Linked DNA regions of Homo sapiens: regions 1, 3 and 4 are each linked to region 2. Evidence: promoter capture Hi-C in 16 types of primary human blood cells and fetal thymus (Javierre and others, 2016). All regions are on one chromosome and are shown on one strand. Each heading gives the region's core, a stretch centred on a gene start or on the middle of the fragment in contact. The rest is flanking DNA. Distances are from core to core; before and after follow the strand shown. Region 1 has its middle 93 kb from the start of PTP4A1. Region 2 holds the start of PHF3 (PHD finger protein 3). Region 3 has its middle 71 kb from the start of LGSN. Region 4 has its middle 90 kb from the start of LGSN.

What was found. Contacts are between HindIII fragments. The CHiCAGO score rates a contact against its expected background, and 5 or more counts as called.
Region 1: a contact is called between a fragment that was not itself captured here and the fragment with the promoter of PHF3 in region 2, in 1 of 17 cell types (non-activated CD4 T cells). The highest score is 5.3, in non-activated CD4 T cells.
Region 3: a fragment that was not itself captured here is called in contact with the fragment with the promoter of PHF3 in region 2 in 2 of 17 cell types (neutrophils and monocytes); the score reaches 6.0 in neutrophils.
Region 4: a contact is called between a fragment that was not itself captured here and the fragment with the promoter of PHF3 in region 2, in 1 of 17 cell types (monocytes). The highest score is 6.2, in monocytes.

The regions. Positions count from the first base shown.
Region 1 is chr6:63,478,253-63,481,024 of GRCh38, reverse strand. It overlaps a transcript of LGSN not described here and the pseudogene EEF1B2P5. Among named protein-coding and RNA genes, the nearest start is that of PTP4A1, 93 kb to the left of the region's middle. The HindIII fragment of the contact is 1,408 bases long and covers 671-2,078 here.
Region 2 is chr6:63,634,446-63,637,188 of GRCh38, reverse strand. PHF3 (PHD finger protein 3) reads right to left here and starts at 1,387. Exons shown (of 16, transcript NM_001370348.2): 1 at 1,039-1,387. RefSeq lists silencers at 613-792, 1,233-1,592 and enhancers at 810-1,630, 2,162-2,699. The HindIII fragment of the contact is 3,030 bases long and covers 1-2,407 here.
Region 3 is chr6:63,389,479-63,392,255 of GRCh38, reverse strand. It overlaps a transcript of LGSN not described here. Among named protein-coding and RNA genes, the nearest start is that of LGSN, 71 kb to the right of the region's middle. RefSeq lists an enhancer at 2,603-2,692. The HindIII fragment of the contact is 3,198 bases long and covers 1-2,777 here.
Region 4 is chr6:63,408,957-63,411,736 of GRCh38, reverse strand. It overlaps a transcript of LGSN not described here. Among named protein-coding and RNA genes, the nearest start is that of LGSN, 90 kb to the right of the region's middle. The HindIII fragment of the contact is 5,935 bases long and covers 1-2,780 here.

The DNA of each region.
Region 1 (2,772 bases), core at 125-2,624, 160 kb after region 2:
CATGGTATGTATGTATGTATGTATGTATGTGTGTGTGTATATATATATATATATATATATATATATATATATATATATATATATCATTTTCTTTATCCACTCATTAGTCAGTGGGCACTTAGGTTGGTTCCACATCTTTGCAGCTGTGAATTGTAATTATGTTGCTATAAAAATATGTGTGCAAGTTTTTTTTTTTTTTTTTCATATAATGACTTCTTTTCCTTTGGGTAGATACCAAGAGGTGGAATTGCTGGACCAAATGGTAAATTTACTTTCAGTTCTTTAAAGAATCTCTATACTGTTTTCCATAGAGGTTGTACTTATTTGCATTCCCACCAGCAATGTGTTAAGTGTTTCCTTTTCACCACATCCATGCCAAAATCTATTGCTTTTTGACTTTTTAATGACACTCTTCTAATTTTGTCATATCTGTCTCATTATCACAAGGTTTCACATCTAGTGAGATGAAAGATGGCAACAGGGGCAGGTTTTTTTTTTGGCTTTCTTTGATTCATACTATGCAGGGTATTCTTCCCTTTGCCTTTTTGATTCTTTGCTTTCCTCCCCCTTATCAAATCCAAATAGATAAATGTCATTGTCATCTTCACTATCTGTAGCTCCACTTCCTCTACTATCTTCCACATTAGCAGGTCCATACTTGCCCAAAGCTTTCTTCATTCCTGCTAGGCTGGCTTTTTCCTTTTCGTAAGACTTGATGTAATTATACCAATGTAGAGCATGACACAAATTACCGGACAATGGACTGGAGACTGCTTCAATTACTGCCACGTCTGCTTGTGATGGCACATACCCCTTGTTGCAGCTCTGGTCAGCCAGGTAACCATTGTGCACCTGGAGGCCAGTGGGGCTTTTCAGGTCTCTGAAACCCATGGCATCAGCTGCATCTGAGAGCTGGGTAGCAGCAAAAGGAAGGAACACAGGTTGTGAATGCCTAGCACTAAGAGAGGAAACAGGGTGCCTGGGGTTGTTGTAAAGAGTGAGTGGGAGTAATGACCTTAGAGAAAAGGCCCCCACTAAAATGTGGACTTCATGAAGGCACAGTTTTGCTTTGTTTTATTCCCTCCTGTATCTCCAGTGACTAGAGAGGTACCTGGCAAATAGTAAGTGCTTGATAAACAATTGCTGATAAATGACTGAATGATTAGGAAATAGGTGATTTAGACTTTGTAAGTATGGCCAAATCAATTAAACAGAGTCTCAGATTCTTCATCTATAAAATGAGGAGTTCAAATTGAGCACTTTTTGTTTGTTTGTTTGTTTGTTTGAGACGGAGTCTCACTCTGTCGCCCAAGCTGGAGTGCAGTGGCATGATCTCGACTCACTGCAATCTCCATCTCCCGGGTTCATGCCATTCTCCTGCCTCAGCCTCCTGAGTAGTTGGGACTACAGGTGCCCACCACCATGCTCAGCTAATTTTTTTGTGTTTTTAGTAGAGACGGGGTTTCACCATATTGGCCAGGATGGTCTCGATCTCCTGACCTCGAGATCCGCCAGCCTCGGCCTCTGAAAATGCTGGGATTATAGGCGTGACCCACTGAGCCCAGCCTTGGGTACATTTTAGGATTTCATTTAGCTCTAACATTCCATTGCTGAAAAGAAAAAAAAAAAAAGAAGTTGTTACTGTACCTCCTACTTCACTTTGTCTACTTTACTAGATATATTTTCATCGATAGGCCAGAAAAATTATAGTGAATGTTGTTTGTCTTTCCAGCATCTATTACTTCCTTTCCCCTGCCTAAGAGTACTTAAATTTTCATCTGGGTCTCCCTTGCTGATACGCTTTGAAAGCAGTTGATCACCAGAAATGGACTGTGATTGACCAAAGCCAATCTCAGTAAGCCCATCTCCCTTGATGCAGTGATTGGTTGAGGCCTGGGTTGTCTAATCTAACCAGTTAAGTTAGCATTTCTCTGTCAGAAATGGACTCCTGTCTCCAGACAGACCAGTGAGTTATGGATAAAGGGATTTTTGGGAAAAGTGTTTCTTGGCTCTTCTGAGAGTACAACTGAAAGACATGTTCTCTCTTGTCTGTATCCTTTTATACGTCTCTGTAAGCTTGGAACCATTGTAACCACTGTGGTATCATGAAGGTTGTAAACCTTGGAATAAGCTGACACTGTAGAAGGAAAAGCTGAGAGAGGAAAAATTAAGTCTTTGATAAAATCACTGAACTCTTGCATCAAACCAACCTTAAAGCACACCCTACCTTTTGAATTTCTAGTTCATAAACCAATAAACACCTTAATTATTTACTCAAGCTTGTCTTTGATATTTGCAGTTTTCTTTGAGGAAATAAGTTTAAATTCTTGAATCTTTAGAGTAGGATGAACTGATGATCGTCTATATGATTAGAATGAGCCGTACATGGGGGTGGTGAGGCAGCATTTTCAGCTAGGGATTATTTTTGGCTCTTTGTTCCTCAGAATACTTCTTTTCAGCTTACCTCTCACAACCCCACCTGGGTGATGTAACTCAACTTATTTAGGGTGGATGATGGAAATTTAGATTTTTTTTTTTCAGAACGTCCTAGGGCCCACAGGAGTATTAGGGAAAGCAATACATGAAGAGTTGTACTTAGTTACCAGAACATTTTCATCACCCCCAAAAAGAAACCATGTATCCATTAGCAGTCACTCCGCACTGTGCTTCCCCCAGTCCTTGGCAACCACTAACGTACTTTCTGTCACTGTGGATTTGTCTATTACCCATTTATACATTTTAAACATTTTTTGGCTTAATAATTTACTAACC
Region 2 (2,743 bases), core at 138-2,637:
AGATAGTAAAGTTAGTATTTAGAGAAGCCTCAATAATCGATTATTCTTTTTAAATTAAATATCGCTACATGTAATGCAGATTAGGACTAGAATATTAAAGCAGTGTTGCCACTTAACATTAATCCATGAACATATTCTACGCGTGACTACTGGAAAGCACTAATAACCACCCCAATCTAGTCTCTAGGAATTGGCATTTAAAAGCCCAAAGATGGAAAAAGGTCACCTAACCCGGCAACACATCCTGAGGGAAAGGAGGGACACAGGACTCCGTGCGCGATATCAACATTCTCTTCCTTTCTACTCTCCGCACCGCCCCCGCCCCCCGTGTCAGGTGATCAGTTATTTAGCACCATTAACACGTACGTATCGACAAGTGGTTCATTAAATTACATGTATTATCGGAAGGCAAGAGTCTAGGCTTCTCATTTCAAACTAAGCAAAAGGAGTCCACAGTTTGAGTCCCGGGCACAAAAGCGCGCGGTAACTGGAGGATAAATGGAAGAGCAACTCTCATCTCCAAAAAGCAGCAGCAGGGAGCAGCCTAGCAGCCAGGGCCAGTCCCAGTTTCCCGAAACCAAGGCCCAAAGCTCCATGCTGGGGCTCCCTGAGAAGGAAGAGGCCCCAACGGCCGGATCCGGGGGCCTGCGAGACGGGCCTTCCAGGCAGCGCCCGCCGTGCCTCGGGCCTGCGCGCCCGCGCCTCAGCGGCGGCGGGGCGCCCTCGCAGCAGACGGCTGGGTACCAGTGGTCGGGAGAGAGGCCGTGGTCCCGACCCTCCGCCTGGCGACCGCGTCGCTGCGACTCCCTCCCCAGCCCGCGGTCCAAATGGTCCACAGGCGCCAGCGGCGCGGCCCAGGTAGGCCGAGGACGTTGCGCAAGAGGCCCGAGAGGCGATCTCTCGGCTGCGCGGGAGAAAAGCGCGGAGAGTCCGCCGCGGGAGGGGCGGAGAGGCCCGCGGAGGCGCTGTGCGTGTGGAAGGGGATGGGGGAGGGGAGGATTGCCCGTCTCCCTGGCCGCGGCCACAGCCGCAACTCACCCAGCTCCGCCAGACGAGCGCTACCACTGGCAGCAAGAGGAAGATGGTGGACGCTGCCGCCGCCGAAGAGGAGGAGGAGGGGGCCCGGTGGGTGCCGCGGAGAGGGGGTACGCGCAGGACGTCGGCGTCGCTGCCACAGCCTCTTTTCCTCCTGGGACCAAATGGCTGCTGCTGACGACACTATTCTTGGCTTCCGCGCCGCCCTCCTAATCCTCGTTGCAGCCGCCGCCGCCCTGAGCCCGAAGGTCGCTTGCCGCGTGGGGACGGTGCGACGGCGCGAGACCCCGCAGCCATCGGCGTGCGGCGGCGGCGCGGGAGCTGGAGAGGGGCCGTGTCACGTGACCCCACTGTTTACCGTTCCGGGGGCCGCGGCCTGCGTCGCTGCCGCGCCTGCGCGCTTTAGGGCCTCGAGCGCCGCGCCTCCGTGGGGCCCCGGGCTGCAGCGCTTCCCGGCGTTGCCGCGCCCCTCCCTGTCTTCGGAGGACGCGGCACCGCCTGCGGGCTTCTAGCTCACACCTCCGCGCCGCCGGGAGGGGCGAATCAGAGGAGCGCTTTTTCTCGACCGTAGTAAGCACTAAGGCTTCACAGTTAATATAATATTGATGCGCAGCTCCCCAACCCCAGGTACTTTTTATTAATTGACTGTGAGTTCAAGAATGGTAGAATAGGATGGAGTAGATGAGCCCTCTGCCCAAATATCTGTGCTGGCTCGGCACAGCAGCCTTACCATTAACTACCTCCGTTACCCTCACCCTACATGGCTGATCTACCTCAGGACTCAAATTGCTACCTCCAAGAAACATTCTTGGTATCCAGTAAGCAGTCTTCAGAATGTGGTCCCAGGTTTCCCTGAGGGGTCGCCAAGACCTTTCAGTAGAGCCTCCATTCCTTTGCCAGGAGCATGTGTCTAAGGCCAAATTTTCTTCCCACCCTTCAACCAAAACAGCATATAGCAGCTGATTCAATGCAGAAACAGATAAGAGAATCCAGCCATCTTCTATTAAGCCAGACATTGAGGAAATCTGCAGAAATTTTAGATATCACCCTTTTATTAATTTGGAAAATATGCTTTTCATAAATACATTATTTGTGGTAACAAATATTGTGTAGAGGTCCAGAGACAAAAAAAGTTTGAGACCCACTGGTCTGCTTCCACAGACACTTGAGCTAACCCCTATCTCAGCCCTTAATAAGCGCTGTGAAGTAATTGTTGCTTGTCAGTCACTCCAACCAAAAGGAGCTACTTAGGGACAGGGTTTGTGGCTTTTATCTACAGGGACTATTACAGTATTCAGCCAGTACCTGCTGAGCACCTTACTGTGTGGTCTGCACTGTTCTAAAACCTTTACAGTACTTGTTGATTTAAGCTTTAGACCAACCGCAGCCCACATTGTAAGATTAGTGCAGGGTGGAAGAATAAGTCACAGGCATGTGGTGAAGATCTGTTCTTTCCTCTCTCTAGTCTTCTGATATTTTAAGCACTCTTAATAGCAAATGCTCTTCTACAAAGGAAGTTTGGGTTGTCCTGATTCCACTGGATTCTTAAGAGTTTCACCCCCTGTCTTGACTAATCAATCCCTCAAGACTTTGTTTTACAATCTTTTTGTAATGTGTTTTTGAGAAAGGAAAATAGAAATGAGTAATTTTTTTTTTTAATTCTCACTTGGGATGTCTGGGATGAATTATAAAAACAAGCCTAATGTTA
Region 3 (2,777 bases), core at 106-2,605, 240 kb after region 2:
TGGGCTGGGTGTCTGGTTGGCAGCACTGAGGAAGGGGCTTCTAGCACTGCGCCCCTCCTACTTCATATCAGTACATGAGTACCTGAGAGGCACCTGGCCTGGGCGTCTTTGACCTCTCTCAGATTTCTGGTCCATGCCCCTCCTCTTTTATAATCTTATGGGACCACTGTTTTATATGTGGTCCATTGTTGACCAGAATGTTTTTATACAGTACATGACTATAATTACTTGGAATTTTGGGGTGGAGGATGAAACCAGTGTTGTTGTTTTGTAATTTTTAAAAATAAACTTTCATATCATTGATTCCTTAAAAGAAGACTTATACTGGAGAGGAGACCAAGTTGCTCTGTGCGTCAACCCATGCTCATTGTCCTTCCATGTCCAAAGACCTCTTCTATGAAAGACAGCTGAGTGTTTCTCTGCTCCTAGGGCCCTTATGCTTTACATCATGTGACTTCTGCTTTTCTGGACCAGCAATGACTTAGTTCAAGGATTAACCTTTGAGACAGAGATAGCTAAAAGCCTCGCTATCAGCCCATGAAGTGTAACTGAACTCTGCCCAGCAAGAATGGTCAATATTGGATGTTGACTAACCGTAAAGCAGATCTCCCTTGGGAATTTGGAGGGAAACTTAAGTGAGCAGGAACTAGAGACACATTGAGGCTTCAGAAATCACAAGACAGTAAAAGCTAACACAGACCTTGAGGTGGAGAGAAGGCAAGTGGAGAGAACAGTGTTGGAGGATACAGAGGTACAAGCAGAGACTGAAATCAACCCACTTACAAGTTGGGAATCCTTGTCAGAAAAAGCAACAGAAGTTTACAGATGCATGGATCTTTGCAGATGTTGCTGTTGAGTGTAAGAGCTGCTATCAGTCCTCTACATTGTGTATTCTGAATGAGCTACAGTTCCAGCTGCTGGCTGAGTAGTTGCTAAGACACAACCTCTTGGTTCTTACTTCCCTTCCATATCTTTAGACCTACACCAACTAAGATAACTTGAAAATGTCATGTTTTTCTCAAACCCAAATAGGATTGACTGCTAAGGACATTTATACATTGCAAATAAATTATTTAATAGCAAATTTGTCTCCATTATCATATTTTTTAAAAACGAGATTTTAAATAATGCTAAATGAGTCTTACCTGTGTACATATTCTATTAGAGCTATTTGAGATCTGATAATACTTAGTAATTCTATTTGTCTATTTAACAGAAGCAATCAATTTATTTCAGATTACCTTTTATCCAAAGAGAAGGTAAAAGTATGCATCCTTTCCAATGGAACTTGTTATAATTCAAATAATTGAAAGTGAATGGAGAGAGATAAGAAAGTTAAGGATATTATCTGAACTAATTCAATTCCAATTTTCTTTTCTTTTTTTTTTTTTTTTTTGAGATGGAGTCTTGCTCTGTCGCCCAGGCTGGAGTGCAGTGGCGTGATCTCGGCTCACTGCAGGCTCCGTCCCCCGGGGTTCACGCCATTCTCCTGCCTCAGCCTCCCGAGTAGCTGGGACTACAGGCACCCGCCACCTCGCCCGGCTACTTTTTTTTTGTATTTTTAGTAGAGACGGGGTTTCACCGTGTTAGCCAGGATGGTCTCGATCTCCTGACCTCGTGATCCGCCCGCCTCGGCCTCCCAAAGTGCTGGGATTACAGGCGTGAGCCACCGCGCCTGGCCGATTCCAATTTTCAATAAAACAAATTCAATTCCTGTGTAACAATCTCCTCCCTGTTGATAAAAAAAAATCTGACAATGAAGTGGTGAATTTGGCAATAGGTCATGCATTCTAAGAAAATAATAGTTGATCAAAATTTGTGGAATCCGGCTGGCACAATGGCTCAAACCTGTAATCCCAGCACTTTGGGAGGCCAAGGCAGGTGGATCACCTGAGGTTAGGAGTTTGAGACCAGCCTGGCCAACATGGTGAAAACCCATCTCTACTAACGATACAAAAATTAGCCAGTAGTGGTGGTGCATGTCTTTAATCCCAGCTACTTGGGAGGCTGAGGCACAAGAATCGCTTGACCCTGGAAGAAGGAGGTTGCAGTGAGACAAGATTGCGCCACTGCACTCCAGCCTGGGTGACAGAGCGAGACTCTGCCTCAAAAAAAAAAAAAAAAAAAAAAAAAAAAAGAAAGAAAGAAAGAAAGTGTCCAAATACTTCAGCTGTAGAATTATTCTTTATACAGTTTCTGAGACCATTAGAGTCTTTTCTCTTCATTTTCTACATCTCCCTACTTAGCATTCACAAAAGGTGTGTTTTCTTTAGGCTTAGATTAGACCTAGAAAATTTTCTCTCACCATTTTTTTTTGTGGGGGATGGGGGAGGAAGAGAAAAAGGAGATAAACTTTGAAGCATGTACATTAATGCACTTAATGTCTGGAGCACAATGACTAAATTATTTTTAGTGTAAAAAATAATTTAAAATGACTGCATTTTATGATCTCTATTTCTGTATGCACTACCTTTGAATTTCTGTATTGGAATAATAGTACTGATATGATCGTCTCCATTAGTAGATTCATGAACTATCATGGTTTGGTTTACTCACTGGCTTACATACTTAATATTGAAATGCAACCATGTAGCAGTTTCACAGCACAGAGTGGCAACCAAGAGTTTTGTATACAGATAAGATTTAAGTGAAACTACACAGGACCATTGTTCAAAACAGAAGCCATGCTTTCCTTAAGGTTAAACACAGTTCCTTCAAATTTTTCTCTTTTGTTCTCTTCTTCTGTTATCAGATTGTGCTAGATTTTGCAATGGGGT
Region 4 (2,780 bases), core at 202-2,701, 230 kb after region 2:
TCCTGAGTAGCTGGGACTACAGGTGCACACCACCACATCCAGCTAATATTTTTTATTTTTTGTAGACTCAGAGTCTGACCATGTTGTCTTGGTTAGCTCAAACTCCTGGGCTCAAAGGATCCTCCCTTCTCGGCCTCCCAAAGTACTCGGATTACAGGTGTAGCCACCATGCCTGGCCTTAGCACAATATTAAGCACTTCATAAGGCCTCAATAAAAATTAATTTTATTATTATTACCATTAATAGTGTGAGCAGCGCAATAGAACTATAGATCAAGTCTCTGTCTTCAAGGACAGATCTTAAAATTCAGTAATGGAGGAGATATGGCATGTAGAAAGAAGATGACACACAAGCCAAGGCTATGTCCTAGTGTAACTTATCTCTGATGCCCTTGCCTACTTTCTCCTTACCTGCTATCCCCTTTACTTGATAACTAACAAAACCGAAAACTGAAAGTAACTGGGAGAATGTCTGCGTAAATGTTAGCTCACAGCGTAATTCCTGGTGCTTGGGAAAATTCCAAATCACGAATATAGACTTTGACCAAGAGATCTTTGGGACAGTCAATATTATTCTTTAGAGAGCTGGCAAAATTTCTAGTCAATTTTAGGAAGAGGCCCTTGGAGTATTTCTGGAGTCCTGAGGCTACTTTGGAGATGAGATGAACTGTAGTTGTGTGTCTGAGAAATAATCCTGATAAATTTAGGCACAATTTACATTTCCTACTAACTCAGTAGGTGTCTCTAAATATCCCCAAGAAATAGCCTGTACTGACATTTCTGGCCTAGCTTTATGCCAAACCTCGTTGCTTAGGAATTGGAAAAAAACTGGTTTTGACCTGAGGAAGTGGTATGTTTGGAGCATGAGGCAGCAACCATTTACCAGCATGTGGGGTCATTAAGATTTCATGAGCTTTTTCTGTGCTACTCAAGTCCACCAAAATTGTTTCAACACCTATTAAGTGCCCAATACCATACTAAATACTTGGTTAAAACACATGTCATAGGTTCTTGTCCTTGAATAGCTTAACAATTTCCAAGGAGCAGGTTTTAAACTGCGTTCATTGCACTTTATGGTTCCAAGAAAGAAGCCCCAGAGCCAATACTGGCTTTAGTGTAATTTTAGAATTGCACCTAGCACATAATAAATGCCCAAATTGTGTTAGCCTTGTGGGTTTATAGTTCAACTGAAAAACTTTTATTGGCTTTATACCATTGATATATATTTATATATTGATCTGAATAAGATTTTATTTGAAAAAAGTTTCTGCTGCTAAATAAAGTTTAAAAAACTAATGATCTCAGGTATCTCATTTCAGAGTCGTACTAAAAATTAATATAAACATTCCATAAAGACTTTACTCAATTTTATAATATTATAGAGTCCCACTTTTGATTAAATGAATGTCTACAAAAAGTCAAAACATTTTGACTAATATGTACACTTTACTGAGTTTAGAATGGACCAATTATAGATAATAGGAAACAAGACTTATAGCCACAAACATTATGAAACTTTGTATGTGTCAAACCTGTACCCGTTTTTGTGAACATTATAAAGGATAACATGTATTGAGTGCCAGGTACTATTCTAAATCATTTTAAATATTTTATGTCATATCTTCATAGCCATATTAAGAGACAGGTACTATTTTATAGATGAGGTAATACCTTATTATTTTATTTTATTTTAATTTTTTTGAGATGGAGTCTTGCTCTTTTGCCCAGGCTGAAGTGCAGTAGCACTATCTTGGCTCACTGCAACCTCCGCCTCCTGTGTTCAAGCAGTTCTTCCTGCCTCAGCCTCCCGAATAGCTGGGATTACAGGCACCCACCACCATGCCCGGCTAATTTTTCTATTTTTAGTAGAGATGAGGTTTCGCCATGTTGGCCAGGCTGGTCTTGAACTCCTGACCTCAAGTGATCTGCCCATCTCGGCCTTCCAAAGTGCTGGGATTACAGGTGTGAGCTGCCACACCCGGCTGAGGTAATAACTAAAGACTAGAAATATTTAACATGACCCAAATCATGTAGCAAAAAAGTCTGTTTGTATAAAAACACAAGGCCATCTGAGCTATTAAGTATTATTATCCCAATTTTATAAATGCAGAAACTGAGATCTGAAATATCAGAATTTTTGTCTTAAATTATACAGCTATTAACTGTCAGAGCTGAAATTTAAAATAAGGTCATCTGACCCCAAATCTGGTATTTAAGGACTACCATAATGGTTAGAAATAGTTAAAACTTAGCAAAATATAAATTGGTTGTTTGTAACAATTGTGTAAAGTGAATACTTGATCAAGAAGTTTAGATATATGTAAAAATTTCTTAAAATACTTGATCAAGAAGTTTAGATATATGTAAAACTATCTTAAAAAGCCTGAATAGACTGACTAGATTACATTTTGTGGTTATTAATATATCTAAAGAAAGATTACATTAATCTAAAGAAACACTTAACATCTTTGTTGAGATATATCCCTAAGTGTTTCATGTATTTATGACATTACAAAAAATATTTTTGGCTGGGTGTGGTGGCTCACACCTATAATCTCAGTGCTTTGGGAGACTAAGGCAGGAATATCACTTGAGGGCAGAAATCTGAGATGAGCATGGTTAACACAGCATGATCCTGTCTCTACAAAATATTTTAAAAAGTAGCTGGGCGTGATGGTGTGCACCTACAGTCCTAGTTACTTGGGAGGCTGAGGCAGGAGGATCACTTGAGCCCAGAAGTTCGAGGCTGCAATGAGCTATAATTGCACTACTGCACTCCAG